4 separate regions of the Homo sapiens genome follow, and all the other regions are linked to region 1. Evidence: promoter capture Hi-C in human tissues and cell types (Jung and others, 2019). All regions are on one chromosome and are shown on one strand. Each heading gives the region's core, a stretch centred on a gene start or on the middle of the fragment in contact. The rest is flanking DNA. Distances are from core to core; before and after follow the strand shown. Region 1 holds the start of BTNL9 (butyrophilin like 9). Region 2 overlaps BTNL8 (butyrophilin like 8). Region 3 overlaps BTNL8 (butyrophilin like 8). Region 4 has its middle 18 kb from the start of BTNL3.

What was found. The method cuts DNA at HindIII sites, captures the fragments that hold promoters and counts their contacts. A contact is called where the count stands out against the background at its distance.
Region 2: a fragment that was not itself captured here is called in contact with the fragment with the promoter of BTNL9 in region 1 in 4 of the 25 tissues and cell types used here (H1 embryonic stem cells, dorsolateral prefrontal cortex, liver and 1 more).
Region 3: a contact is called between a fragment that was not itself captured here and the fragment with the promoter of BTNL9 in region 1, in 5 of the 25 tissues and cell types used here (dorsolateral prefrontal cortex, heart left ventricle, mesenchymal stem cells and 2 more).
Region 4: a contact is called between a fragment that was not itself captured here and the fragment with the promoter of BTNL9 in region 1, in 4 of the 25 tissues and cell types used here (H1 embryonic stem cells, lymphoblastoid cells, mesenchymal stem cells and 1 more).

The regions. Positions count from the first base shown.
Region 1 is chr5:181,036,372-181,043,210 of GRCh38, reverse strand. It overlaps BTNL9 (butyrophilin like 9), which reads right to left and starts at 2,945. Exons shown (of 11, transcript NM_152547.5): 1 at 2,779-2,945. RefSeq lists an enhancer at 5,502-6,428 and a silencer at 6,673-6,839. The HindIII fragment of the contact is 13,573 bases long and covers 1-4,750 here.
Region 2 is chr5:180,920,626-180,927,464 of GRCh38, reverse strand. The region is part of intron 3 of BTNL8 (butyrophilin like 8); the gene reads right to left. Among named protein-coding and RNA genes, the nearest start is that of BTNL8, 25 kb to the right of the region's middle. The HindIII fragment of the contact is 3,989 bases long and covers 698-4,686 here.
Region 3 is chr5:180,940,737-180,947,575 of GRCh38, reverse strand. It overlaps BTNL8 (butyrophilin like 8), which reads right to left. Exons shown (of 8, transcript NM_001040462.3): 4 at 1-64. It also overlaps the pseudogene RPS29P12. Among named protein-coding and RNA genes, the nearest start is that of BTNL3, 45 kb to the left of the region's middle. The HindIII fragment of the contact is 3,923 bases long and covers 1-3,355 here.
Region 4 is chr5:180,967,640-180,974,478 of GRCh38, reverse strand. It overlaps the pseudogene LOC100128762 and the pseudogene TMEM69P2. Among named protein-coding and RNA genes, the nearest start is that of BTNL3, 18 kb to the left of the region's middle. The HindIII fragment of the contact is 3,778 bases long and covers 694-4,471 here.

The DNA of each region.
Region 1 (6,839 bases), core at 1,696-4,195:
CACACAGACACATACACACACACACACGTGCTGACAGTAATAAAACTAACATGCATTGGGTACTTCCTATCTATCAAACACTTATCTATACCTCAGTATTATTATTTTTATTATTATTATTACTAATAGGTCCAAATTATAGATAAGGAAACGGAGGCCCAGGAGCTGAGTGACTTGCTCCTGCACACAGTGGGTGAGTGGTGGGGTGGGGTTCCACCCACTGTCTGGTTCCAGAGCCTCGCTCTGCACTTCTCGAATTCAGATTCCTCACCAGCTACGTCGTGTGTCTGGGTACACCCTTCCGTCACTCCTGTTACCCAAAACCATGACCGTCTCAGGAACCAGCTGGCCACAGACCAAACACTCACCCTAACCTGCCATCACACAGAGGCACTGAAGAAGCGACCGGCTCACACGGTGCCAGCCACAAAACCAGCCAACCAGCCAACTAATGAATACAAAATTTAAAATCCCGCTGCCAGATAAAACAACTTAAAGCTGAGGTCTCCCTAAGACTTTGTCAAGAGCATCTTCTGAGCCAGGAGGAACAGGTACCTGGTCCCTTTGCTCCCAACACTCAAGGGTATCATCTTGAAAGCCTTTAGCAGAGAGAGATGGTCTGGCAGCTTCCTGAAGGGAAAAGTCAGCGGCTCCTGGACAGCACCCTCCTCCCCGTTTGCTGCTGTGCGTCCGCCCTTTCTGACCTCACTCTTCAGTTAAGGATCCAGGGTGCTCAATCCTTACTTGAAGCGTAAGTCCCCTCCTCGAAGGAAACACTTTCCACCCTCTGCTATTTTGATTACAGTGTAAATTGATTTCAGGTTGTTCCTGGTGAGGAGGTTTTGCCTGGGGAAGGAGTAAGGGACTGGACGCGTCGGATATTTGGGGAAGAAGGAAAACCCAGTGTGCGCAAGGACCACAAAGGGGTCCTCCAGCTGGAGCTGAGCTCTGCCGGCGGGCACGTGCTGCTTGTCCTCCCAGGAGCCTTGGGCTGCTCCCTCCGGAAGGCACAGGGAGAAATAAGGGGTCCTGAGAAATGTCACTGCCTGCACCCAGCAAAAGCCCATTTCTTTCTTCTCCTTCTCTTTTTATTTTTCTTTTCTTCTTGCTCTCTCATTGCCCCCAGCCCGCCCCACTCCTGTTCTCTCCTCCTGCACCTGCAATTCCTAAACAACCCTGATGTTTTTCTGATTTCCGGTCCCTCCGTCGAGTCTGTCTTTAAAGATGAGTACTTTTTGCTTTGCTACTGTTATTTTTTTAGATAATTTATTGTTAAATAAAGAATTTTAAAGCAAAATGCAGTGGGACAGATGTCAAAGGCAAGTTGAAAACATAATTTCTGTCAAATACTATTCTGGATTTCCTAAGGTTAGGCACAAGAAAAGCATCAAATGAAAAGGTACTTACTCAAACTAAGTCTTTTTAAAAAGTCTGTATTTGAAAGGAAAACAACTTTTCACTAAAAATATAAATCATTCTTATTACAGGAAAACCATAATTTAAGAGACTGAGAAAAGTTTTTGATTCACAAATAAATGGCATCTCCCTAATACACTTAGGACTGTTTGTTTTTAATCAGTGACTCTTAAAAATCACTGCTTCCACCTGACAAACTCAGGCGAATCACTATGGATTGGTGTCCTCTGAGCCACCCTGAAGCATCCCATTTTCTCTACACATGTCCTTTTCTCCAACTTTCAGCAAAGCAAGAATGGAGAAAAAGAGGATTAGAAGGAACTTCAGTTGGTTCCCTGGTGAATAACTTAACAAAATAAAACCTGCTTTTCCATTTGTATTACACATTCACAATCTCTCACTCTTACTTACTCTATTGGTGAATTTCAGATTCTGTCCACACATATAATTATTTGCCTGAACTTAACACTATCTTCCTGACAAATAGTAAATCTCCCAAGGACATCTCCGAACCTGGCAGTGTCCACAGGCCACGTCCTCCCACAGGAGTCCCTCGCCTGCTATGCAGCTGTTGGCGTCCTGAGCGATCCCAGTGTTTCCATGGGGGCAGAGCAAAACCTTGGGGATTCTCTAACATAATTTTAAGACTACATTTCACACTTAAATGACCACGTTATGAAACCTGGCAGGAAAATCCATGTTATTAATAAATGCCATGTCTCTTGCTCTCCCAAACACAGGAAGTATTTTTTGCTCTGCATATGTCTGCGGAGACTGTGGGGTCCCAGAGTGGAAAACTTCTCTAGTAACAAAGTACAGAAATTATCCCTGAAGTATAGTCTTTGCTTTGCTACTTCTGTAAGCTGTGTAACTGGTGAATTTTGCCTGTCTCCTGTCCTCCACTCCCCAAGCTGCAAGTCCGCAGGTGTCAGTGGGGCCTTGGCCCTCTCCCACGGGCCTCCCCGACACCCCCTGCAATGCCCTTCCCCCCGGCAGACCCCAGCTAGTGCTCACTGCCTGCGCTGGTTTGATTTCGATAGGTCCACAAGAGGATTTCCACCCTCTTAGTCTCTAAGGAAGATGGACTGCCCCAAGAAGGGAACCGCAATGAGGCTTGAAATCTTTTTCGTCTGGTGGGGGCAATGGGATGTATCAGGATCCTGCCTCCTGAGATGCGGCCCACCTAAACGGGCGTGGACATCTCCTCTTGGCCACACTCGAAACATCCCATGCTGCGGCCAAGCTCGGATAATAAAATGGTGCCACTAATTGTACGCCTTCCCAAAGCCTCCCACCTTCATTTTCTGATTGCCGTTTCTGAAAGATGGAGGTGTAGGCAGCTGTTGAGAATGAGCCACTTACCTGGCAGGTAGCAGCAAAAGGTCTGAAATGGCAGATGAGTCCTGGTGAGCTCACCTCCTCTGCAAAGGGTGATGATTGCTGTAAAGTGTCTTGGTCCCAGATGCTAAGATTCCCTAGACGTGGACTGGCAGCTGAGCTCCAGAGGCCAGGGCACGTGTGACAGAATTATTTATCCATCTTCCACCCTAAGATATATGCCGTTTGCTCTGCCCTTGGCTATGGAAACCAAGATGGATAGAACAAAACAAGGAAGTCGTCACATCCTGTCTCTGAGAAAAATCTTGAATTCCCATGTAAAATATCTCTCCAGGGTCACAGAAGGAGGGGAAAGGTATCTGAGAGCTTTGTAGAGAGCGACAGCTGCAGAGGCTCAAAGTGAGGAGAAAACGCTCCAGCTGGGTTCAGGGTCTTTGTGCCAGTGAAGCTCGGACTCCAAGGAGGCAGGGTAGCAGTCCCCGAACAGTGAAAGAGAGTAGACTGCAGTCTCCACTAACTAACCACGAGGAAGGGGCTGATGACCAATTTTTAACCCACCATAACCTTCTCCTCAGGACAAGGTCAGTAAGGAACAAATCCTGGGGGCATTGTCGTGAGGCAACCTGCAAAACCTGTTCACGTGCAACTTAGAAATGCAGGAGGGTGCTGGATTGGGATTTCTCTAGTGGAGAAGAGGTCAGAAAAGAAGCAGCAAGCACTACCCCAGCCCAGCCCACCCCATCTTACTGTAGGCCATGGTGCAACTTGGGCATTAGCGGACTGAGGCACCAGCCACCCAGCTGCAGCCCACACTGACGTCCCCTCCAGGGAACAGGCCAGAGCTGAGGCACGAGCAGCTCAAGCACATGCAGTGTTGTGGGAAACTGAGGACCGGAGAGACCGATGTGAAGAACAGGAGGATTGTTTATTTTAGGTACACACCGGCTCAGTGGACTCACATCCAAAAAGCTGAGCATTAAACAAAGACAGAGCGGGGTTTTTGTAAGTGGACTTACAATAAATAAAACAAAAGCAGCTAATCATGATAGGTCACATAATCTATAGCATAGCATAACTTGTGGCCTTGCACAGCGGGTGACTTTGTAGCTGCATTGAAAGAAAAACAAGAACTGGCTAAGTACAGACATTTGTAAAACACAATCATGCTTAAGAAGCCTGGGAAAACAGTAACAGTAAAAGAATTTGTCTTTCTCTCTTTTTCCTTCAACCTTGCTCTGGAAGTGGGGCGGCGGGTATCTGGAGCCCATTCCTTTGGCCTTGGCTTTCTGGACACTGTTATAACTGTCCTTGCAGTGGGCTTGCTATAGGCAGAGGAAAACTTGTCCTTTACTTTTTAACCCTTGCCTTGCCTGTTACTTTTCTTGGAGTGAATGAAGGCATATGTATTTTTAAATTTTCTGCCTCAGTAGCACACCCCAGGGACTCCCAGAAGTGCCTGTGTTTGTAGAGGGGCCTCTGCAGGTGACAGGGCGCTACATGGGTGGGAGACGGGAGCCAGCAAGCTTCAGGCATGGACCTGGAGGTGACTGTCTGTGCTCAGACAGGCTGGTGAGACTGGGCACCCAGGCTTATTAATGTGAACAGATGTCCCTAGGACAGCAAAAGGGGCTGAACAGTGAGCTCAAACAGTGGGTGCAGTTCCCCGGGCCTGGGGAGACAGAGGAGGGCTCAAGGACAGGGTATACTTAAGATGGATGCTGCATAAACAGTAGGATCAGGGAAGCCATGGGCAGCCCGGGAGGACAGAGCCTGCGAGGACAGACATTCTTCGTGGAGGGAGGTGATTAGCATGTGGGAGGTAGGAAAAGGCTAGGGGTTAGCCAGACCAGTGTGTGGCTCACTAGTGGAAGGGAAGGTTGAACAGAAGTGGATGGGACCACATTGCAGAGGCCCTTGCATGCCACATAGGGAAGTGAAAGAGAAGGAAAATTGCACTTGTAGAGAGGGGCTGCTCGAAAACGAGAACATGGCCTAAACTTTTCATTGCCCTTAGGTTGGATTCCTCCATGCTGCCTGGGGAGAGGTGAGATTGTCACAGCAGAAATGCAAAGAGAGAGAGAAATGGGCAGAGTCCACTTCTGTGGCTCCTAGACACAGCCCTGGTGGGATGTGGGAGGGGGACCCCACCTGCCACCACCGCCTGCATATCAGGCGCATCATGCAGTAGGAAAGATGTAGACAGCGGCTGTCCCTGCCAGCCGAACCTCCCATTCCAAGACCCAGTAAATGCATAAAGGCTCAGATCCAAAATGAAGGTAGGTGCTGAACCCCTGGCGGACTATAGGTGCCACTGGAGAGAATGGACCCTCATCTGTCCTTGTGTGGGATTTTTGGGTGTCAATTTTCTTCCCAGAAACCTCTGTGGCACCTGAGTTCTTGTCCTGCCTCCAGGAAGAATGAGGTCATGAGGTACACAGACAAGTGAAGGGTGAAGAAGATGCAGAGAAGCTTTATTGAATGCTAGAACAGCTCAGAGGTGATCTGCAGTGAGCTCCTCTCTGTAGGTAAGTCCTCCCCTCCCACTGAGTGTTCAGCTCTCAGCAGAGAAGGCCCTTGAGAGGGTAGCTCCTCTCTGCCCACTGGTCCTCCTGCCACCTGCTGCTCTCAGCAGACAGAAGTCCCTGGAGAGAGTGGCTCCTCTCCACAGGCAAGTTGTTCTGAACACCTCTGCAGGTCTCTGAAGCTCTCAGCAGAGAGGGTAGCTCCTCTCTGCAGCTGGCCATCCCATCGTTTCTCCATCCTCTGCCCTGCTCTGGCTGAGCCTCAGGCTTTTATGCACCTCAGAGGGGAGGAAGTGCATGCTGATTGGTCCATGGGCAGCCAGAGGGAGACACCACAAGTCCCCACTCCAGTCAGAGGGACTGGCAGCCAGGCCTTCAGGCCCTCCCTGGCCTGAAGGCGGGGCCTTACTGGGGACCCGCCTTCTCCCTCCAGGGACTCTGTCTGCCTCCCACTGCCATTTATGGTCCCTGGCTAGGCCCCAACCCCGCTCTGAGAGTGGGAGCAGAGAGAGGCCAGGCAGTGGGAAGCAGACAGCCCTGAGCCTGCAGGGATGGGGGTTGGGGGGCTGGGTACAGGGTGGTTCTTCCCAGGCCCTGGAGGTGCAGAATGCACAGATGCCGGGGTCCTGCTCCTGGGAGGGTGGCCGAAGCTGCACCCGGGGAGCTCCTGCCCCATCAATTCGGAAGGGGCAGGGCTCCTGCTTGTCCTGGCTCCTGCCTCCTCCGTGGAGCAGGAGGCTGAGGTCTGCAGCTGTGGGTTGGGTGGCTGCAGCTGCACGCAGAAGGGCAGATCCTGCCTGCCCCTGGCTCCCACCCAGGAGCTCAGGGAGGCTTGGATCCACAGCTGCAGTTTGGGTGGCTGTAGACCCACACAGGAGGGTTGGGATCCTGCCTGATCTGTACAGCAGGAGGCCTGGGTCTGCAGTCACAGTTTGGGTGACTGCAGCGGTACCCGGGGAGCTCCCGCCCCATCTCAGAAGGGGCAGAGCTCTTACTGGCTCCGTGAAGTATGCAGCCCCAGCCAGGCCTCCCTGCTGCAGCCCCTGTGATGGCAGCGGCCATCACGTGGAGGGAGGTGATTGGCACGTGTGGGGTAGGAAAGGCTAGGGGCTAGCCAGGCCAGCATGGAGCCATCACTTGGACAGCGGAGAACATGCCCCATTATATAGCTTCCGTGGTGCACAGCAGCCCTCACCATGAGGTCGTCTGAGGGAATTCTGGAGGGGCTAATGGGAGAATCCTCATCCCCAGGGCAAAGGCTATTCTCACGCCCAGCGTGGGCTACCAGTGGAGATAGAAGCAAAGTCATGCCAGCCTCGCAAGTAGTGAATTCCTCCTTTTCTGACGATCCCCCATCCACCTTCCCCGGCAGCCCACAACATGGCCCTTGAGCTTCCTTACTGCATTTTCATTTTCTCCTGTTCCGTTCTCCAGGGAGCTCACACTGACATTCTTGTGCCTGTCAGCTGGCACAGTGCCCCCCATTGTGCTTTGTCACACAGATAGAGACGTGCACAGGCACTGGGAGATAGGAGAGGCCCACTGCTGCCCTCACAGCCACAG
Region 2 (6,839 bases), core at 1,443-3,942, 120 kb after region 1:
GTTTTGTTCCCTTGCTGGTGAGGAGTTGTAATCCTTTGGAACAGAAGAGGCATTCTGGTTTTAGGAATTTTCAGCCTTTTTGCACTGGTTTTTCCTCATCTTCATGGATTTATCTACCTTTGGTTTTTGATGTTGGTGACCTTCGAATGGGGTTTCTGTGTGGACATCCTTTTTGTTGTGTTGATGTTGATGCTATTCCTTTCTGTTTGCTAGTTTGCCTTCTACCAGTCAGGACCCTCTGCTGCAGGTCTGCTGAAGTTTACTGGAGGTCCACTCCAGGCCCTGTTTGCTTGGGTATCATCAGCGGAGGGTGCAGAACAGCAGAGATTGCTGCCTGCTCCTTCCTCTGTAAGGTTCGTCCCAGGGGGGCATCCACCATATGCCAGCCGGAGCTCTCCTGTATGAGGCGTCTGTCGACCCCTGCTGGGAGGTGTCTTTCAGTCAAAAGGCACAGGGGTCAGGGACCCACTTGAAGAGGCAGTCTGTCCCTTAGCAGAGCTCAAGCACTGTGCTGGGAGAGCTGCTGTTCTCTTCAGAGCAGGCAGGCAGGAACGTTTAAGTCTGCTGAAGTTGTGCCTACAGCTTCTCCTTCCCCCAGGTGCTCTGTCCCAGGGAGATGGGAGTTTTATCTCTAAGCCCTTGACTGGGGCTGCTGCCTTTCTTTCAGAGATGCCCTGCCCAGAAAGGAGGAATCTAGAGAGGCAGTCTGGCTACAGAGGCTTTGCCAAGCTGCAGTAGGCTCCATAGAGTTTGAACTTCCTGGTGGCTTTGTTTACACTGTGAGGGAAAAACTGCCTACTCAAGCCTCAGTAATGGTGATGTCCCTCTGCCCACCAAGCTCGAGTGTCCTGGGTTGACCCCAGACTGCTCTGCTGCCAGTGAGAATTTCAAGCCCTTGGATCATAGCTTGCTGGGCTCCATGGGGGTGGGATCCACTGAGCTAGACCACTTGGCTTTCTGGCTTCAGCCCCCTTTCCAGGGGAGTGAATGGTTCTGTCTCGCTGCCATTCCAGGTGCCACTGGGGTATGAAAATCTCCTGCAGCTAGCTTGGTGTCTGCCCAAACGGCCACCCAGTTTTGTGCTTAAAACCCAGGGCCCGGGTGGTGTAGGCACCCAAGGGAATCTTCTGGTCTATGAGTTGCAAAGACCATGGGAAAAGCATAATATCTGGGTTGTAGTGCACCATTCCTCATGGCACAGTCCCTCACATCTTCCCTTGGCTATGAGAGGGAGTTCCCCAACCCCTTGCACTTCCCAGGTGAGGTGATGCCCCACCCTACTTCAGCTCCCTTTCCGTGGGCTGCACCCACTGTCTAACCAGTCCCAATGAGATGAGCCAGGTACCTCAGTTGGAAATGCAGAAATCACCTCCCTTCTGCATTGATCTTGCTGGGGGCTGCAGACCGCAGCTGTTCCTATTTGGCCATCTTGCCAGCCACCGCCTGCTGTGGTTTTTTTGTGTTGTGGTTACCATGAGGCATACACAAAATATCCTTTTAACAGGCTATTTTATTCTGATAACTTTAATCACATACAAAAACTCTACACTTTCACTCCTTTCCACTTCTTATGATTTTGATGTCAAAATTTACATGTTTTGTAATTTGTATTTCTTTACAATTTATTTTAGTTATAGGTGCTTTTAATAATTTTGTCTTTTAACTGTGACAGTAGGGATAAATTAGCTTTAAATACCACCCTTACTGTATTAGAGAATTCTGAATATGACTATATATTATTTTTACCAGTGAGTTTTTTACTTCCATATGTTTTTGTTATTATAATCCTTTTGTTTTAGTTAAAGGGCTCCCTTTAGTAATATTTATAAAATAGATCTAATAATGATTAATTACCATAGCTTTTGTTTGTCTGGGAAAGATTTTATTTCTCCCTCATTTCTGAAGGACAGATTTGCTAGTAATGTAATCTTGATTGGCAATCTTTTCCTTCAACACTTTGAATACATAATGCCATTCTTTCCTGGCATGCAGGATTGCTGCTAAGAGAAAGGCTGAAAACCATATTGGGGCTCTCTTGAATGCGATATGGTTCATTCTCTTGCTGCTTTCAGTATTCTTTCTTTGTCTCTGATTTTTTGATAATTGGAATATGATATATCTTGGTAAAATCCTCTTTGGGTTGAATTTGATTGATGACATCCAAGCTTCCTGAACCTGGATATTTTTGTGTTTCACCACATTTGGGAAATTTTCAGCCATTATTTTCTTAAATATGCCTTCGGGATCTTGTTCTCTCTCATCTCCTTCTGAAACTCCTATTATGCAAAAGTCAGTACACTTAATGGTGTCCAATAATTCCTATAGGTCTTTTTCATTTTTTATTCTTTTTTCTTTTTTATTCTCTGACTGGATAATTTAAAATATCCAGTCTTCAAGCCCAGTGATTCTTTGCCTTGATCAAGTCTGCTGTTGAAGCTTTCTAGTTAATATTTTGGTTCAGTTATTGTATTCATCATTTCTAGGATTTTAACTATTTTATTGTTTTTATTCCTTTGTCAAGCTTTTCTTTTTGTTCATTAACCATTTTTCAAATGTTATTTATTTTCTATCTGCATTTTCTTGTAGTTTCCTGAACTTCTTTAAGGGGATTATCTTAAATTCTTAGTGGTCTCATAGACTTGCATATTTCAGGGTCTATTACCGGAGCATTATTAGTTTCTTTTGGTGTCATATTTTCTTGATTTTTAAAATAATCCTTCTGTCTTTGTGTTGGTGCCTGCACATTTGAAGAAATGGCCACCTTTTCTGGCCTTTGCAAGTGTTCTTTCTCAGTAAGAGGTCTTCACTATTTAATATAGCCTGGGATTCTGAATAGGCCAACTGGTAGCAACCTCAGACAGGCAGATGTGGGTGTTGGGTTCTCTAGTTGGGCTGGGCCACTACCTGTGCTCTGACATTAAATGGAACTGCTGGCTGTGCTCCTGTGACAGGTGGTGCTGCTGATTGGGCTCTGCAGTTGCCTGATTGTCCAGGGTTAGAGGTTGTCTTTCTTGCTAGATGGTACTGTTGTTTGGAATCTGTAGTTGGTCAGGGACGTGTGCTGAGCTCTGAGGCTGGGTGAGATTTCTGGGGTTGCTGCTTGATCACTCAGGGTGGGCAGGGCCAGAGGCTATGCTCCACAGATGTGTGTGGACTTGGGCTTGGCTCCTAGTCTAGAGTAGCCTTAAGCAGAACACCAATGGTGGGTTGAGTTGCTGCATAGCTACTGGGTCTGGGCAAGATCAGATGCTCCCTCTGTAGATAATCACAGAGCTGCTATTGTCTTCCTATCTAGGGAATATGCAAAGAGAACCCAAGGCTGGCTGAGTCGCTGCTCAGCTGCTGAGGTTGGCCAGGGCCAGATGCTCCCTGTATGGTCAACTGCCAGTGTGCACTTGCCTCCCACGCTGAGTAAGGCTTAAAGACAGCATCAGGAATTGTGTTGCTACTTGACCAGTGGGGCTCAGTAGGGCCAGATGTGTCTCTCCTCTTATTTTAGTTATTTTAGTAAACTTATCTAATCCTTAATAAGAGTATAAAAATATTTTATTAAATATATTTCTATGTGACATTTTGTGTTATTATACATGGCATATTTGTTTGTTTTTCTGTCTTTGCTGGTGTATAAAATGCAATGTATTTTGTTTACTGATCTTATTTTTATGAACATAATGAAGTATAAATTGAAAGAATTTGTCTGTAGATTAATCCAGATTTCCAATGTGTATTATCATATAACCTGTTGGAAATAGGCATTCTATTTTTTCCTTCCTGGAAATTGTAATTCTTTTTTCACTTTCTTTCTTTTTTTGCAATGATTACTATTCCAGCATATTGTTGAACAGCAATGTTTAATGCAGTTATCTTCATTAAGTTCCTGGGTTTAAACCTCCTACCATGATGTATCATGGTAGCTATGGGTATTTTTAAATAGCTTTCTATCAGATGAAAGAACTGCTCTTCTGTTGCTAATTCATAAAAGGTTTTCTTTTATTTCTGGATTCACAAGTGTTTTAAATCATAGTTAGATGTTGAAACTTATATATGTTTTATTAACATCTATAGAGAATCTTATAGATTTTCTCCTTTAACTTATTAAGGTAATACTTACATAAATATACATATCCCAATGTTGACCTAACCTTTTATTCCTGGGTAAGCTCAATTCAGTCATAATATATTAGGTTTTTTAAAAAACATTTGCTTGGAGTTTATAAAATTTCTAATTGGAATTTTACATTTATGTTTCTGAAAATTTCTTATTAATATTTTTTAAACTGCCTTATTGGCTAAATCCTCCAATTAAAAGGCACAGAGTGGCAAGCTGGATAAAGAAACAAGACCAAATGGTATGCTGTCTTCAAGAGACTAATCTCACACGCAACAACATCCATAGGCTCAAAATAAAGGGATGTAGGAAAATCTACTAAGCAAATGGAAAGCAGGAAAAAGCAGGAGTTGCAATTATAATTTGAGACAAAACAGACTTTAAACCAACAATAATCAAAAAGACAAAGAAAGGCAATATATGATGGTAAAGGGTTCAGTTCAACAAACATAACTATCCTGAATATATATGCACCCAACACAAAAGCACCCAGATTCATAAAGCAAGTTCTTGGAGACCTTCAAAGAGATTTAGACTTCCACACAATAATAGTGGGAGACTTCAACACCCCACTGACTGTATTAGATAGATTATTGAGGCAGAAAATTAACAAGATATTCAGGACCTGAACTCACACTGGATCAAATGGATCTCATAGACATCTACATAACTCTCCACCCAAAAATAACAGGATATACATTCTTCTTATCACTACATAGCACATACTTTAAAACTGACCACATAATCAGACACAAAACACTTCTTAGCAAATGCAAAAGAACTGAAATCATAACAACCGCTCTCTCAGACCACAGCTCAATACGATTACAGATCAAGGCTAACAAAATCACTCAAAACAATACAATTACATGGAAATTGAATAACCTACTCCTGAATGACTTTTGGGTAAATAATGAAATTAAGGCAGAAATTAAGAATTTCTTTGAAACTAATGAGAAAAAAGACACAACATACCAGCACCTCTGGGACACAACCAAGGCACTGTTAAGAGGGAACTTTATAGCACTAAACAACTACATCAAAAAGTTAGAAAGATCTCAATTTAAGAACCTATTATCACAACTAAAAGAACTAGAGAACCAAGAGAAAATCAATCCCAAAGTTAGCAGAAGATAAGACATAACAAAATCAGAGCTGAACTGAAGGAGATTGAGATATGAAATACCATTCAAAAGATCAATGAATCCAGAGTTGGATTTTGAAAAAAATTAATAAAATATATAGACCACTAGCTAGGCTAATAAAGAAAAGAGAAAAAAATATCCAAATAAACACAATCAGAAATGACAAAGGGGATATTACACTGAGCCAAAAAAATACAAATAACTATCAGAGACTATTATGAACACCTCTATTCACACAAACTAGAAATTCTAGAAGAAATGGATACATTTATTTAAAGGTGTTAATTTATTTTTCTGTTTTGTTTTTTGTTTCATAAAACCATTTATCAAGTATGATAGGTATGATTCACATGTAAAAAGCTGTACATATTTAATTTATACAACTCAAAGAGTTTGGTGATAAGTATATACCCATTCAAATCATCACCACCATCAAGACTATAGACATATCCATCATCTCCCGTAGTTTCCTCCTACCCCTTTTATTATAATTATTACAATTATTGTGTGTGTGTCTGTGTGTGTGTGTGTGTGTGTGTGTGTGTGTGTGTAGTATGAGCAGAATATAAGATCTACCCTCTTCACAGAATTTAAGAATACAATAGTTTATTGTTAGCTACAGGCACTGTGCTGTATAGTAGATCTCCAGAACTTCTTCATCTTGCACAAATGAAACTTTTTTATACCTTTTGAATATCACCTTCCCATTTTTCCCTCCCCTCATTCCCTGGCAATCACAGTTATGCTCTATGATTCTATGACTGATGATTTTAGATTACACATATAAGTGAGATCATTTTTATGTCTGGCTTATTTTACTTAACATAATGTCCTCCATGTTCATCCATGTGTCGGGATTACCTCTTTTTTATTGTTGAGTAATATTTCATTACATATGTCACTTTTTAAATCCATTCATCTGTCAGCAAATAGATTGTTTTCATATCTTGGCTACTGTGAACTATGCCACAATAAACATGGAAGTGCAAGTATCTTTTTGAAATCCTGACTTCAATTCTTTTGGATAAATGCACGGAAGCAGGATTGCTGGATTATAAATTATCAATGAGGTTACTTATTTTATATAATTTTGTACACTGCAACTTTACTAAATGTATTAGCTCTAACAGTTTTTTGTGGAATCTTTAGGGTTTATCTACATATAAGACTATGTAGCATAGTTCTATTTGTATTTTTTTAAGGAATCTGCATACTGTTTTCCATAGTGGCTGTATCAATTTATATTCCCAGCAACAATGTAGTAACACCTGTAATATTTCTTAAGTTAGTAATAACCAGTCTAACAAGTATGAGGTGATCTCTCCTTATACTTTTGATTGAATTTCCCTGATGGTTAGTGATAGTGAGTCACTTTTCATAAATCTCTTGGCTATTAATATTTATATGTCTTTTGGGGAAAATGTTTATTCATGTACTTTGCCCATTGTAAAAATTGGAATATTTTTGGTTATTGAGTTGTATGAGTGTCTTACATATTTTGGACATTAACTCTTTATCAGGTATATACTTTGAAAATATTCTCCCATTCCACATGTTGCTTTTTATTTTGTTGATTATCTCCTTTG
Region 3 (6,839 bases), core at 145-2,644, 94 kb after region 1:
CCACAGCAGAGTATTCCCAGTACTTTGGTAGCCAGGTGCCACGATATAGGCTCGAAAAAGGTATCTGAAAAACAATCCCACAGACATTTTAGTTATTGGTGAACAAAAGACACAATTCAATTCTTCTTTAAGGAGTCACCTTGTTCCCCACAATGGAAGAAATAGGTTTCTATAAATTCTCCTATAGGCTTAATACTTTGATTGTACTTTTGTTATAAAATGAGGTAGTGGTTCTATTTAATTTTCTTCTCAACAGATAACGACTGTGCCAACATTTATTGAATGGACATTCCTTTACACACTGATACGTGCAGCATCACCTCTGACCCAATAAGCTTTCTGTTTAGGTTTGGATTTGTTTCTGGGCTCTCTGCTCTGTGTCATTTGTCTACTTGTCCACTTTTGTGCCAATAATTTTGAGTGGCTTAATCACCACAGTTCCGGGATATGTCTTGGTATAAACTAGACTAAGTTTCCTCACTTCTTATTCAGTTGTGCCTTGGCAACTTTGCTCTGCGACATAAATTTTTGTATTGACTTGTCAAGTTCTAAGAAAATTCTGCTGAGATTTTGAATGGAATTGTATTGAATCTATAGATCAATTCAGAGAGAACTGATGTCTTAAAATATTTGCATCTTGTCTGAAAAACTATCTCTTCCCTCCTTTTATTACTATTATTTAAATTGACAAATCACATACATATTAATGGGTACGGTGTGACTCTTTGATACATGCCTACAATGTGGAATGATTAAATCAAGCTAATTAAGACATCCATCATCTCCCTTACTTATCATTTTTATGATGAGACATTTAAATTTTATTCTTTCTGTTATTCTGAAATATACAATATATTATTGTTAACTACAGTCACCCTGTTCTTCAGTAGACTTCAAAACATATTCCTCTTGTCTATCTCAATCTTTGCACCCTTTGACCAACAACTCCCCATTCTCTCTTGCCCTCTGCCCCAGCCTCTGGTAACATTCTACTCTCTATTGTTATGAGTTCAACTTTTTTAGCTTTGACATATATCAGATCACAAGAGATTCATCTTTCTGTGCTTGGCTTATTTCACTTAGCATAATGTCCTTCAGGTTTATCCTCGGAGTTGCAAACGACAAAATGTCCATCCTTTTTTTAAAGGCTAAATATTGTATTCCATTGTATTTATAGATCACATTTTCTTTATCCATTCATCTGAATGATGGACACTTAGACTGAATTTAGCAATTGTGAGTAATACAGCTATTCCATCAACATATTGATTACAATCCATTTTCATATATTCCCACAAGTAGGACTGCTGAATCATAGAGTAGTTCTATTCTTAGTTTTTTAAGAAAACTCCATACAGTTTTCCATAATTGCCATACTAATTTACATTCCCACCAATAATGTATGAGTTCCTTTTCTCAGCATCCTTGCCAACACTTATCTTTAATCTTTTTGATAATAGCCATTCAAAGAGGTGTAAGGTGATATCTCATTGTGGTTTAATTTGCGTTTCCACAATGATTAGAGATGCTGAGCATTTCTTCATGTACCTGTTGTCCATTTATTTATTTATTTATTTATTTATTTATTAATGTTTATTTTATGTACAAAGAGCTATCATGGTTTTTCATTGCGTAGATGCCTTGGATAATCCATTCAAGGAAGAGCACTTAGTTCAACTTAATGAAACATATGTCCTTTGCGTGCTGATGGAAACACTGCCAGCACATATTGAGGCCATATTTCCGGATCAGACTCGACAAGAGCAAGAACCCTGACCGAATTTTCATGAGTGGCTCCAGTACAGCTGCTGGTGACCCATCTTGCTCTCAGGAGTGCAACTAGGTGAAAGAAGAGAGTTAGCGCAAGCCTACACTCTCCCTGTTGTCCACTTAAATGTAATTTTGAGAAATGTTTGTTCAGGTCCTTTCCCCTTTTTTAAGATCAGGTTATTTGTTTTCTTTCTATTGAGCTGTTTGAATTTCTTATATATTTTGGTTATTAACCCTCTATCAGCTGTTTGGTTTGCAAATATTTTCTCTCACTCTGTGGGTAGTCCTTCACCTTGTTAACTGTTTTCTTTGCTGTACAGAAGCTTTTTAGTTTGATGTAATCCCATTTGTCTATTTTTGCTTTTTTGTCTGTGCTTTTTATGTCATATTCAAAAAAATTATTGCCAAGATCAATGTCATGGAGCTTTGCCCATATATTTTCTTCTAGCAGTTTTATAGTTGCAGGTCTTATGTTTAACTTTTTAATCTGAGTTCGTTTTTGTACATGGTGTGAGATAAGGGTTCAATTTCACACATGTGCATGTGGATATCCACTTGTTTCAATATCATTTATTGAAGAGACTGTCCTTTCTTCATCCTGTGTTCTTGGCACCTTTTTCAAAAATCAATTGTTCATAAACACATGGGCGTACTTCCAAACTTTCCATCCTGTTCCATTGAGTGATGTGTCCGCTTTTGTGCCAGCCCCAGGACGTTTTAATTATAATCACTTTATATTTTGAAATCAGAGTATTGTGACTCTAACTTTGTTATTTTTGCTCAAGATTGCTTTGGCTATTTGAGATCTTTTGTGATTCCATATGAATTTAAGGATTCCTTTTTTCTTTATCTGTGAAAAGTGACGTTAGAATCTTGAGAGAGACTGTATTGAATCTGTAAATAGCTTTGGGTAGTATAAACATTTTAACAATGCTAATCCTTCCAATCCCTGAACATGGAATATATTTCCTTTATTTGTGTTCAGTTTTTTAAGTTTTATTTTACTTTGTATTGATGTAATAATTGTTCATATTTACAGGGTACAAAATGGTGCTTTGATATATGTGTACAATATGTAATGATCAAATTAAGGTATCACCTAAAACATTGATCATTTAAGGTGAGAACATTCAAAATCCTCTTTTCTAGCTATTTTGAGATATGTAATATGTTATTGGTAATTATAGTTACCCTACTGTGCAATAGAAGACTGGAACTTATTGCTGCTATTTAAATATAATTTTGTACCTGATCAACCTCTCCTCATCCCCTGCAATCCCTCTACCCTTACCAGCCTCTAGTAACCACTATTCCACTTTCTACTTCTATGAGATCAGCTTTTTAAAAGAATTTTAATTGCCTCATAATAACTGTACATATTTATGTGGTACAATGTGATGTCGTGATACATGTATACATTGTGTAATGATCATTTCCATCACCTCAAACACTTGTCGTGTCTTTGTGGTGAGAACATTCAAAATCCTCTCTTCTAGCTATTCTGAAATATACTATACATTCTTGTTAACTATAGTCACTTTGCTATGCAACAGGACACCAGAACATTTTCTTCCTATCTAATTGTAACTTTGTATGCATTGGCCAGTCTTTCTCCATTCCTCCCTCTACCCTATCCCCAGCTCCACCAGTCTCTGGTAACCCCTACTTCTCTACTTCTATGAGATAAACTTTTTGGATTCCATATGTGGGTGAGATCATGTGATATTTGTATTTCTGTGTCTGGCTTAATTTACTTAATGTCTTCTAGATTCTGTACCTCTATGAGATCCATTTATTGGATTCCACTTATGGGTGAGATCATGTATGGTTTAATGTAACTTAACGTAGTGTCTTCTAAGTTCATCCATGTTGTTGCAAATAATAGGATTTCACTCTTTTTATTACTGAATAATATTCTATTTTGTATATACATCATATTTGCTTTTCATTAATTTGTTAATAAACACTTAGGTTGATTCCATATCTTAGCTATTGTGAATAGTGCTGAAATAAACATAGGAGTGCAGATTTCTTCAACATGTTGATTTTCTTTCTTTTGGGTATACTCAGTACTTTGATTGCTGGATCTATGGTAGTTTTGTTTTTAATGTTTTGAGAAATCTCCATAGTGTTTTCCATAATGAACACACTAATTGAAAATCCCACCAATGGTGTGTAAGTGTTCCTCTTCTCCACATCAACAATTGTTATCTTTTGTCTTTTTGATAATAGCAATTTTAACTTGAGTAATGTTTTATCTCATTGTAGTTTTGATTTGCATTTCCCTGATGACTAGTGATACTGAACAGATTTTTATATATCTGTTGTTCATTTGTATGTTTTCTTTTAAGAAATGTATATAAGGTCTATCATCCTGGCCAGGCACGGTGGCTCATGCCTGTAATCCCAGCACTTTGGGAGGCTGGATGGATCACCTGAGGTCAGGAGTTAGAGACCAGCCTGGCCAACCTGGTGAAACCCCGTCTCTACTAAAAATATAAAAATTAGCTGGGTGTGGTGGATGGTGTCTGTAATCCCAGCTACTCGGGAGGCTGAGGCAGGAGAATCACTTGAACCCAGGAAGCTGAGGTTGTAGTGAGCCAAGATTGCGCCATTGCACTGCAGTCTGGGCGACAGAGCGAGACTCTGCCTCAAAAAAAAAAAAAAAAAAAAAAGTCTATCTTCCCTTTTGTGATTGGATTATTTGGGTTTTTTCACTCTTGAGTTGTTTGAGTTCCTTATATCCTGGATATGAATACCTAGTCAGATGTATAGTTTGCAAATATTTTCTCCCATTCTGTAAGTTACCTCTTCACTCTGTTAATTATTTCCTTTGTTGTGCAAAAGCTTTTCAGTTTGATATAATCACACTTGTCTGTTTCTGCTTTTATTGTCTGTGGTTTTGAAATCACATAAAAAAAAATTATTGCCCAGTCCAATGTCCTGAAGCATTTTTCCTATGTTTTCTTCTAGTAGCTTTATAGTTTCAGGTTTTACATTTTAGCCTTTAATTCATCAAGAGTTTATTTTTATATATGGTGAGAGATAGGGGTTAGTTCATTCTTCTGCATATTGATACTAGCAAATGCAGCACTATTTTTTGAAGAGACTCTTTTCTCTAATATATATTCTTGGCACCTTTCTCAAAAGTGAGCTGACTGTAAATATGTGGATTTATATCTGGGTTTTGTATTCTGTCTCATTCTTCTGTGTGTCTGCTTTTATGCTAGTACCACGCTGTCTTGGCTAGCATGCTTTTGTAGTGTATTTTGAAGCTCCATAGTGTGATACTTCCAGCTTTGTTCTTTTATTCAGTAATGTTTTGGCTGTTTGGAGTCTTTTGTGGCTCCATATGAATTTTAGGATTTTGGTTTTTATTTCTTTAAAGAATGTCATTGGTATTTTGATAAGGATTGCATTGACTCTGTAGATCACTTTGGGTAGTGTGGTCATTTTACCAATCTTAATTCTCTTACATCAGGAACATGGGGTATCTTTTCATTTGTTTGTGTTCCCTTCAGTTCTTTTCATCAATGTTTTGTAGTTTTTATTGTATAGATCTTCACCTCCTTGGTTAAACTTATTCCTTGGTATTTTATTTTGTTGTAGCTATTGTAAATGATACTGCTTTCTTGATTCTTTTTCAACTAGTTTGTTATTGGTGTGTAGAAACACTACTGAATTTATATGTTGATTTTGTATCCTGCAACATTACTGAATTTGTTTATCAGTTCTAAGAGGTTTTTTTGATGGAATCTTTAGTTTTTTTATATAAAGATCATGTTGTCTGCAAACAGGGACAATTAGACTTTCTCCTTTCCAATTTAGATGCCATTTATTTTTTGCTCTTGCCTGATTGCTCCGGCTAGGACTTCCAGTACTTTGTTGAATAAGAGTAGTAAAAGTGGGCATCCTTGTCTTGTTCCAGTTCTTATTGAAAAGCTTTCAACTTTTCCCCATTCTGTATGATGTTAGCTGTGAGTTTGTCATATGTGACCTTGATTGTGTTGAGGTACATTTCTTCTACATCTAAACTGTTGAGAGTTTATATCATGCAGGATGTTGAATTTCATCAAATATTTTTTAATGTCTATTGAGATGATCATATACTTTTTGGTCTTCATTCTGTTGATGTGATATATCAAATTTATTGATTTCCATATGTTGAACCATCCTTGCATCCCTAGAATCAATCCCACTTAATCATGGTGTATATTCTTTTTGATATGCTATTGGATTTGGATTGCTAGTATTTTGTTGAGAATTTTTGCATCTATGTTCATAATGAATATTGGCCTGTAGCATTCTCCTTTTTGTTGTATTCTTTTCTGATTTTGGCATCAGGATAATACTGTCCTCATGGAATGAGTTTGGAAGAATTCCCACCCCTTCAACTTTTTGTAATACTTTAAGAAGAGAAGGTGTTAGTTCTTTAAAAGTTTAATAGAATCCAGCAGTGAAGTCATCTTGTTTTGGGCTTTTGTTTGTTGGGATACTTCCTACTGCTGATTCACTCTTGTTACTCATTATTAGTCTGATTAGGTTTTCTAGTTTTTCCTGACTCTATTTTAGTATGTTCCATGTGTTTATGAGTTTATCTACTTCTTTTACATTTTCCAACTTGTTGGCATATACTAGTTCTTTCTTTCTCTCCTTCCTTCCTTCCTTCCTTCCTTCCTTCCTTCCTTCCTTCCTCCCTTCCTTCCTCCCTCCCTCCCTTCCACCTCTTTCTTCTTGCTGTGTTTCCCAGGCTGCATCTCAATCTCGGCTCACTGCAGCCTCTGCCTCCCAGGTTCAATGATTCTCAGCCTCAGCCTCCTGAGTAGTTGGGGCTACAGGTGCATGCCACCAAGCCCAGCTAATTTTTATGGGTTTTTTTTGTTGTTATTGTTGTTTTTTTGTAGAGACAGGGTTTCACCACCATGTTGGCCAGGCTGGTTTCGAGCTCCTGACCTCAAGTGATTTGCCTGCCTTGGCCTCCCAAAGTGCTGAGATTACAGGCATGAACAATTGTGCCCCGTGGCATATAGTTCTTAATAGTCTCCAATGATCCTTTGTATTTCTCTATT
Region 4 (6,839 bases), core at 1,333-3,832, 68 kb after region 1:
TCCTGTATTTTTTTTAGAATTTAAATGTTTTGAGGTATTATTTTTTAAGCTTTTAGTCCATTTTGAGTTTGTTTTTGTGTGTGGTGTAAGATAGGGGTCAGATTTCTTTTGCGGGCAGATGTCCGGTTTTACCCACATCAGTTATTGAAGAGACTATCAATTTCCCATTTTGTCTTCCTGGTGAACTTGTTGACAATTAATTGGCCATATGTGCTTGGGTTTATTTATGAGTTTCTTATTTTGTTCCATTGGTCTATGTGTTGGCTTTTATGCCAGGAGCATTCTGTTTGATTTCTGTAGCTTTGCAATACATTTTGAAGTCAGGAAGTATGATGCTCCAACCTTATTTTTCTGTCTCAATATTATTTTGATATTTAAAACTTTTTGTGGGTTTATACAAATTTTAGTATTTTTTGTTTCTGTGGAAAATGCCATTAAAATTTCTATGTAGTGTTAAACCTATCGATCATTTAGGATATATAGAAATTTTAGCAGTATTAATTCTTCCAAACCAAAACACAGGATATCTTTCTATTTATTTATTTATTTACTTATTTATTGAGAGAAGGTCTCACTCTGTCACCCACGCTGGAGTGCAGTGGTGTGATCATAGCTCACGGAACCCTCAAATTCCTGGGCTCAAGTGATCCTCCCTCCTCAGCCTCCCCATTAGCTGGAACTACAGGCATGTGCCGCAATGCCTGACTAATATTTTAGGATTTTTTTTGTTTTTGTAGAGATGGGGTCTTCTTTCTGTTTATTAATGTTCTCTTTAATTTCTTTCATCAATGTTTTATAGTTTTCAGTATACAGATCTTTTACCTGAACCAGGCATGGTGATTCACACCTGTAATCCCAACAATTTGGGAGGCCACTAGAGGACAGGAGTTTGAGACCAGTCTGGGAAACATAGCAAGACCCCATCTCTAAAAAAAAATTTTTCTTTGGAAAGGTGGTTCAGATCTTTTATTTCCCTTGTTAGATTTATTCCTATCGTTTTGTAGCTTTTGTAAATGGTATTGTTTTCTTGACTTCCTTTGTAGATATTTCTTTGTTAGTGTATAGAACCAGCTGATTTTTATGTTGATTTCACGTCTTGTAACTTTACTGAATTTATTTATTATTGCTAATAAGTTTTTTTGGTGGAATATTTACAGTTTTCTAAGTAAAGGATCATATTATATGCAAACAGAGACACTTTTACTTCTTCCTTTCTGATTCGTATGGCTTCTCTTTCTTTTTCTTGTCTGATTACTCTTGCTAGTACTTTCAGTACTGTGTTAAATAGAAGTGGCAAGAAGGAACATCCTTTTCTTTTACCAGACCTTAGCAGAAGCTTCAGTTTCCCTCATTGATAATGATATTCTTTGTGGACTTGTCATAAATGGCCTTTATTATGTTGAGGAAATTTCCTGCCATCTTTATCTGTTTGGGCTGCAATAGCAAAATCTCTTAAAATAAGAAATTATAAACACGAAAAATTTATTGCTCACAGTTCTGGAGGCCGATAAGTCCAAGATCAAGGCATTAGCTGATTCAGTGTCTGGTGAGAGCTTGTTCTCTGTTTCAAGATGGCATCTTCTTATTTTTACATGGTAGAAGGATGAACAACTCTTTTAGGCCTCTTTTATAAAGGCACTAATCCCATTTTTGAGGGAGAAACCCTCCTGACTTAATCATCTCCTAAAGCCCACACCTCTTAATACTATTGCTTTGGGGTTTAGGTTTCAACATATGAACTTTAGAGACACAAACATTCATACCACAGCATCTTCTATATCTATTTTCCTTGGATTTTTTAACCATGAAAGGATATTAAACTTCATCAAATGTGCTTATTGCATCTATAGAGATGATTATGTGGTTTTAATCTTTCATTCTCTTAATGTGGTTTATCATATTGATTGTTTTGCATGTACTAAACCAACCTTGTATCCCAATGATAAATCTCACTTGGTCATGGTGTATAAACTTTTTGATGTGTTGTTGAATTTGGTTTGCTAGCAATTTATCAAAGATGTTTTGCATGTATGTTAATCAGAGATATTGGTCTGTAGTTTTTTTTACTTGTGGTGTGTTTGGTTTTGGTATTAGAGTACTGCTGGACTCATAAAGCGGTTAGAAGTGTTTCCTCTATTTTTATTTTTTGGAAAAGTTTAAGAAGGATTGGTGTTATTTCTTCTTTGAATGTTTGGTAGAATTCAGTTGTGAAGCCAATTGGTCTTGGATTTTTCTTTGCTGGGAGGCATTTTATTACTACTTTAATATCTTTGTAATTGGTATGTTCCGGCTTTCCATTTATTCTTGGTTCAGCCTTAGTAGGTTGTATGTTTCTAGGAATTTACCCATTTCCTCTATGTTATCCAATTTGTTGGCATATAATTGTTCATAATAGTCTCTTATGATCCTTTTTATTTCGAGGGATCTGTTGTAATGTCTCCTCTTTAATTCTGCTTTTGTTTCTTTACTTTTTTTCTTAGTATAGCTAAGAGTTTGCCAATTTTATTCTTCTCTAAAAGGCAATTTTTATTTTTGGTATTTTTCTATAGTTTTTCTACTTTCCGTTTGACTTTTTTCTATTCTAATCCCTATTATTTTCTTCCTTTTGCCAGCTTTGGCTTAGCTGCTTCTTCTTTTTCTAGTTCCTTGATGTGTACAGTTAGGTTGTTTATTTGATATCTTTCCACTTCTTAAATTTAGGCATTTATCACTACAAACTTTCTTCATACTACTGCTTTTATTGCATCCCATAACTTTTAGTATGTTTTTTCAGTTTTATTCAGTTCAAGATGTATTTAAAATTCTCTTTTTGATCCAGTAGTTTTTAAGATTATGTTAGTTTCCATGTATTTGTGAATTGTCCACCTTTCTTCGTTATTGATTTCTAGTTCCACTTCATTGTGGTCAGAAAAGATACTTCATACAATTTTGATCTCCTTAAATTTGTTAAAACTTGTCTTGTGGCTTCACATGTGATGTATTTTGGAGAATGTTCCTTGTAAGCTTAAAAAGAATGTGTATTCTTCTGCTGTTGGGTGAAAAGTTCTGTACATGTCTGTTAAGTCCATTTGGCTAACGGTGTTGTTCAAGTTCACTATTTCTTGATTTTCTGCCTGGATATTCAATTTAATACTGAAAGTGGAGTGTTAAAGTTTCCTATTATTGTTCTACTGCTGTCAATTTCTCCTTTCTTCTCTCTCAATGTTAACTTTAGGTGCTGTAAAGTTGGTTGCATATACGTTTACAATTATTCTATCTTCCTGTTTAATACACCCTTTTATCATTACGTAATAACCTTCTTTGTCTCTAGGGACAACTTTTGACTTAAAGTTTACTTTGTCTGATATATGTATAGCCACTCCTATTTTCTTTTGATTACCGTTTGCATGGTAACATATCCCTCTTATCTAACAAAAGTTTTGTACTCCTTGGCAAACATCTCCCTATTGCCTCCCCTGCCCCCAGCCTCTGGTAGTCACCATTCTACTCTGCTTCTGAGTTAAGCTTTTTTGCATTCCACATATAATTAAGAGCATGCAGTATTTGTCTTTCTGTGCCTGGCTTATTCGTTTAGCATGATGTTCTCCAGATTCATCCATGTTGTCACAAATAAGAGGAATATTTTCTTTTTAAAAATCAGTAGTGGCTCAGTCAGTCGCTCTGTGCGTGCCATGGCGCTCGGGAGGGGGCGGCTCCTCTGGTGCCCGGCGTCAAACATGGTGGAGGCGGTGGATCTGGGCAAAGACCCCAACGGGCCCAACCATTCCTCGATTCTGTTCACCAGGGAGGACGGCAACTCTAGGTCCTTATACCTGCTGCCCAGCCCAGCCAAGCAGCTGCTGCACCACTCGGTGCAGGAACCCAGGCCACACCGCTGGCCCAGCCTGGGGACGCCTCCAGCAGCTTTGTTGTCTGCGCAGTGCGTCCCGGACCGCGTAGAACGCTGCAGCGGCTGGAGCTGGCGGCCTATGGGCTGGGCCCCGCCTACGCGGCCCACTCGGGCACCGGCGGTGGGGGGGGGGGGTCCCTGGCAGAGCGCGCCGTGGAGCCCAAGCCGTAGTCGCTGGTGGGGCCGCCTTCAGGGATGCGGGTGACGTGGCTTTTCAGGCCTACGTGAAGGAAAATGCCTGCTCGCCCTGTTCGGTCGCGGGCAAAGCCTGTGGGAAGCGATGGAGGAAAGCCGGCTCGCGGAAGAAAGGCCCCTCAGAACCTATGGGGCCAGGAGCAGGGAATGCCCCAGGAGCCCCCGCTGCGCTCCCAGACGCTCAAGCAGAAGGCAGAGCAGGACCCGGAGCCTGAGGATTGCCGGGAACCATGGAATAAGAGAATTCCAGCTTTGCCTGAAGAACATGTGAAGGAAGAAACCCAGAAGCATGAAGCAGCCATCAAAAAACATGCCTGCGGAAGCCACCAGGGAGTTGGATGAGAGCCCTGATTTTTTTTTTTTAATTTTTTTATTTTATATTTTTCAAGACAGTTAAAGCATTGAAATGTTTAAGCGGGTGACTATATAATTCATAACATGACTCAGTGAAAACAAATTTAGTATGAGACTGAGAGGTGACAACGTGCTGGTGACCCGTGCTCGCTCTCAGTGCTTCCTGGGCTTCCATTCTGGCCACCTTGAGGAGCCCTTCAACCCGCCGCTGCACTGTGGGAGCCCCTGTCTGGGCTGGCCGAGGCTGGAGCCGGATCCCTCTGCTTGTGGGGAGCTGTGGAGGGAGAAGCATGGGTGGGAACCGGGACTGTGGTGGCGCTCGCAGGACCCAGGCCAGCAGCTGTGGAGGGTGCGTGGGGTCCCCCAGCACTGCCAGCCCACCCACGCCCTGCTCGATTTCTTGCCAGGCCTCAGCCGCCTCTGGCGGGGCAGGGCTCGGGACCGGCAGCCCGCCATGCCTGAGTCCCGCCCCCCCAACCTGCACGGTGGGCTCCTGCGGGCCCGACCCTCCACGACTGCAGCGTCCGGTCCCATCAAGTGCCCAAGGGCTGAGGAGTGCAGGCGTGCTGCGCAGAACTGGCGGGCAGCTCCACTTGTGGCCCCTGCAGGGGATCCACTGGGTAAGCCAGCTGGGCTCCTGGGTCGGGTGAGGACTTGGAGAACTTTTATGTCTAGAGGGAGAAGTGTATATGCACCAGTCAGCACTCTGTGTCTAGCTAGGGATTTGCAGATGCACCAATCAGCATTCTATCTAGCTAATCTGGTGGGGACTTGGAGAACTTTTATGTCTAGCTGGAGGATTGTAAATGCACCAATCAGCACTTTGTGTCTAGCTCAGGGATTGTAAATGCACCAGTCAGCACCCTGTCAAAATGGACCAATCAGCTCTCTGTAAAATGGACCAATCAGCAGGATGTGGGTGGGGTCAGATAAGGGAATAAAAGCGGCTGCCAGAGCCAGCACCGGCAACCAGTTTGGGTCACCTTCTGCCCTGGGCAAGCTTTGTTCTTTAGCTCTTTGCAGTAAATTATGCTGCTGCCCACTGTTTGGGTCTGCAGTGCCTTTGTGAGCTGTGATACTCATCTCTAAGGTCTGCAGCTTCACTCCTGAAGCCAGAGAGACCACGAACCCACCAGAAGGAAGAAACTCCAAACACGTCCGAATATCAGAAGGAACAAACTCCAGACACACCATCTTTAAGAACTGTAACACCGTGAGGGTCTGTGGCTTCATTCGTGAAGTCAGGGAGACCAAGAACCCACCAATTCTGGACACAAGATGAAAATGACTTGTCAGGGATTTTCGTGCTCCTGCTTAAGTAATTACTATGAAGTAACAGTTTCTGGAAATGAAGAATAATGTGTGAAGAATAAATTACCATTGGTGTGGGGGAGGGGAGAGGCAAACAGGAGAAGTAGAAAAAGGTGTAGCCAGTGTACCAGTGTTATCTACAGTGTAGTTCTATGCCTTTTCTACTTGACCAGGTCGCTTAGGTCCATTCTGTGGGTAAATATTTTTAACACTAAAGTGATTATAAATGAAAAAGTGGCCAATAAAGTGACTACTTTCCTCAGGGCTTTGAACCAGTTGGGATAATGTGGCAAAAGAAACAGATGTGTAATGCTATCCCCGTTACCTATGATTGCTATGGCTTCGCTGAGTCTTTCAGAAATAAGGCAAACCGTGAAAACAACAGGAACTGTACTATTAGCTAAATGAAGGAAGTCGGGTTTGGCTGGACTGCCTTCTGATACAGCAAAACCCCATCTGACCACCACAAGGATAGGAAACTGGCTCCATCTGAGTAAAGGCTAATAGGGGAATATAAGTCTTTGTCATTAGCAGGACCAGTGGTGGACCAATGAAGGGGATTAGTCCTGCCAGAGTTACCTATAATGCTGGCTTTGGGCTGTCAGGCAGGTACATGATGGTGCTTGGTGGCCTGGCTGGAAGTACTGCTTACTCCTGCTTTTTAAAGTTGCAGGGGGATGTATGATAGCATTGTGTCTTGTTCATATACACTGGAAATGTTGGGAAAATCCAAGGCCTCGGAAACAAAGGGGAAAAGTTCTGCTGGAGAGACGTCTTGAGAGAACGTGTATCTGTTCCTCTGCTGGCTCCTAGTCCCACTGCAAAAGAGTACTTAAGCATCTTAGCAGATGCTTGAGAAAACTTCAGGATGAAGCGAAACATACTGGGCCCTATTGAAAGTCTTGTTCAGGAGGATGCCAGGCAGTTCTGATTAACGTATTGTTACAGCTAAATGGAGGCATTGGATCAGAGGCATGGTTTTGTTAGCATCTCGCAGAAAGATGGAAAACTGAACTGCGAGAACCGTCCAGGACTCCTGGAAAGGCAATTCCTACAAGTGGATCAAGAGCCCTGATTTTGAAATACATAT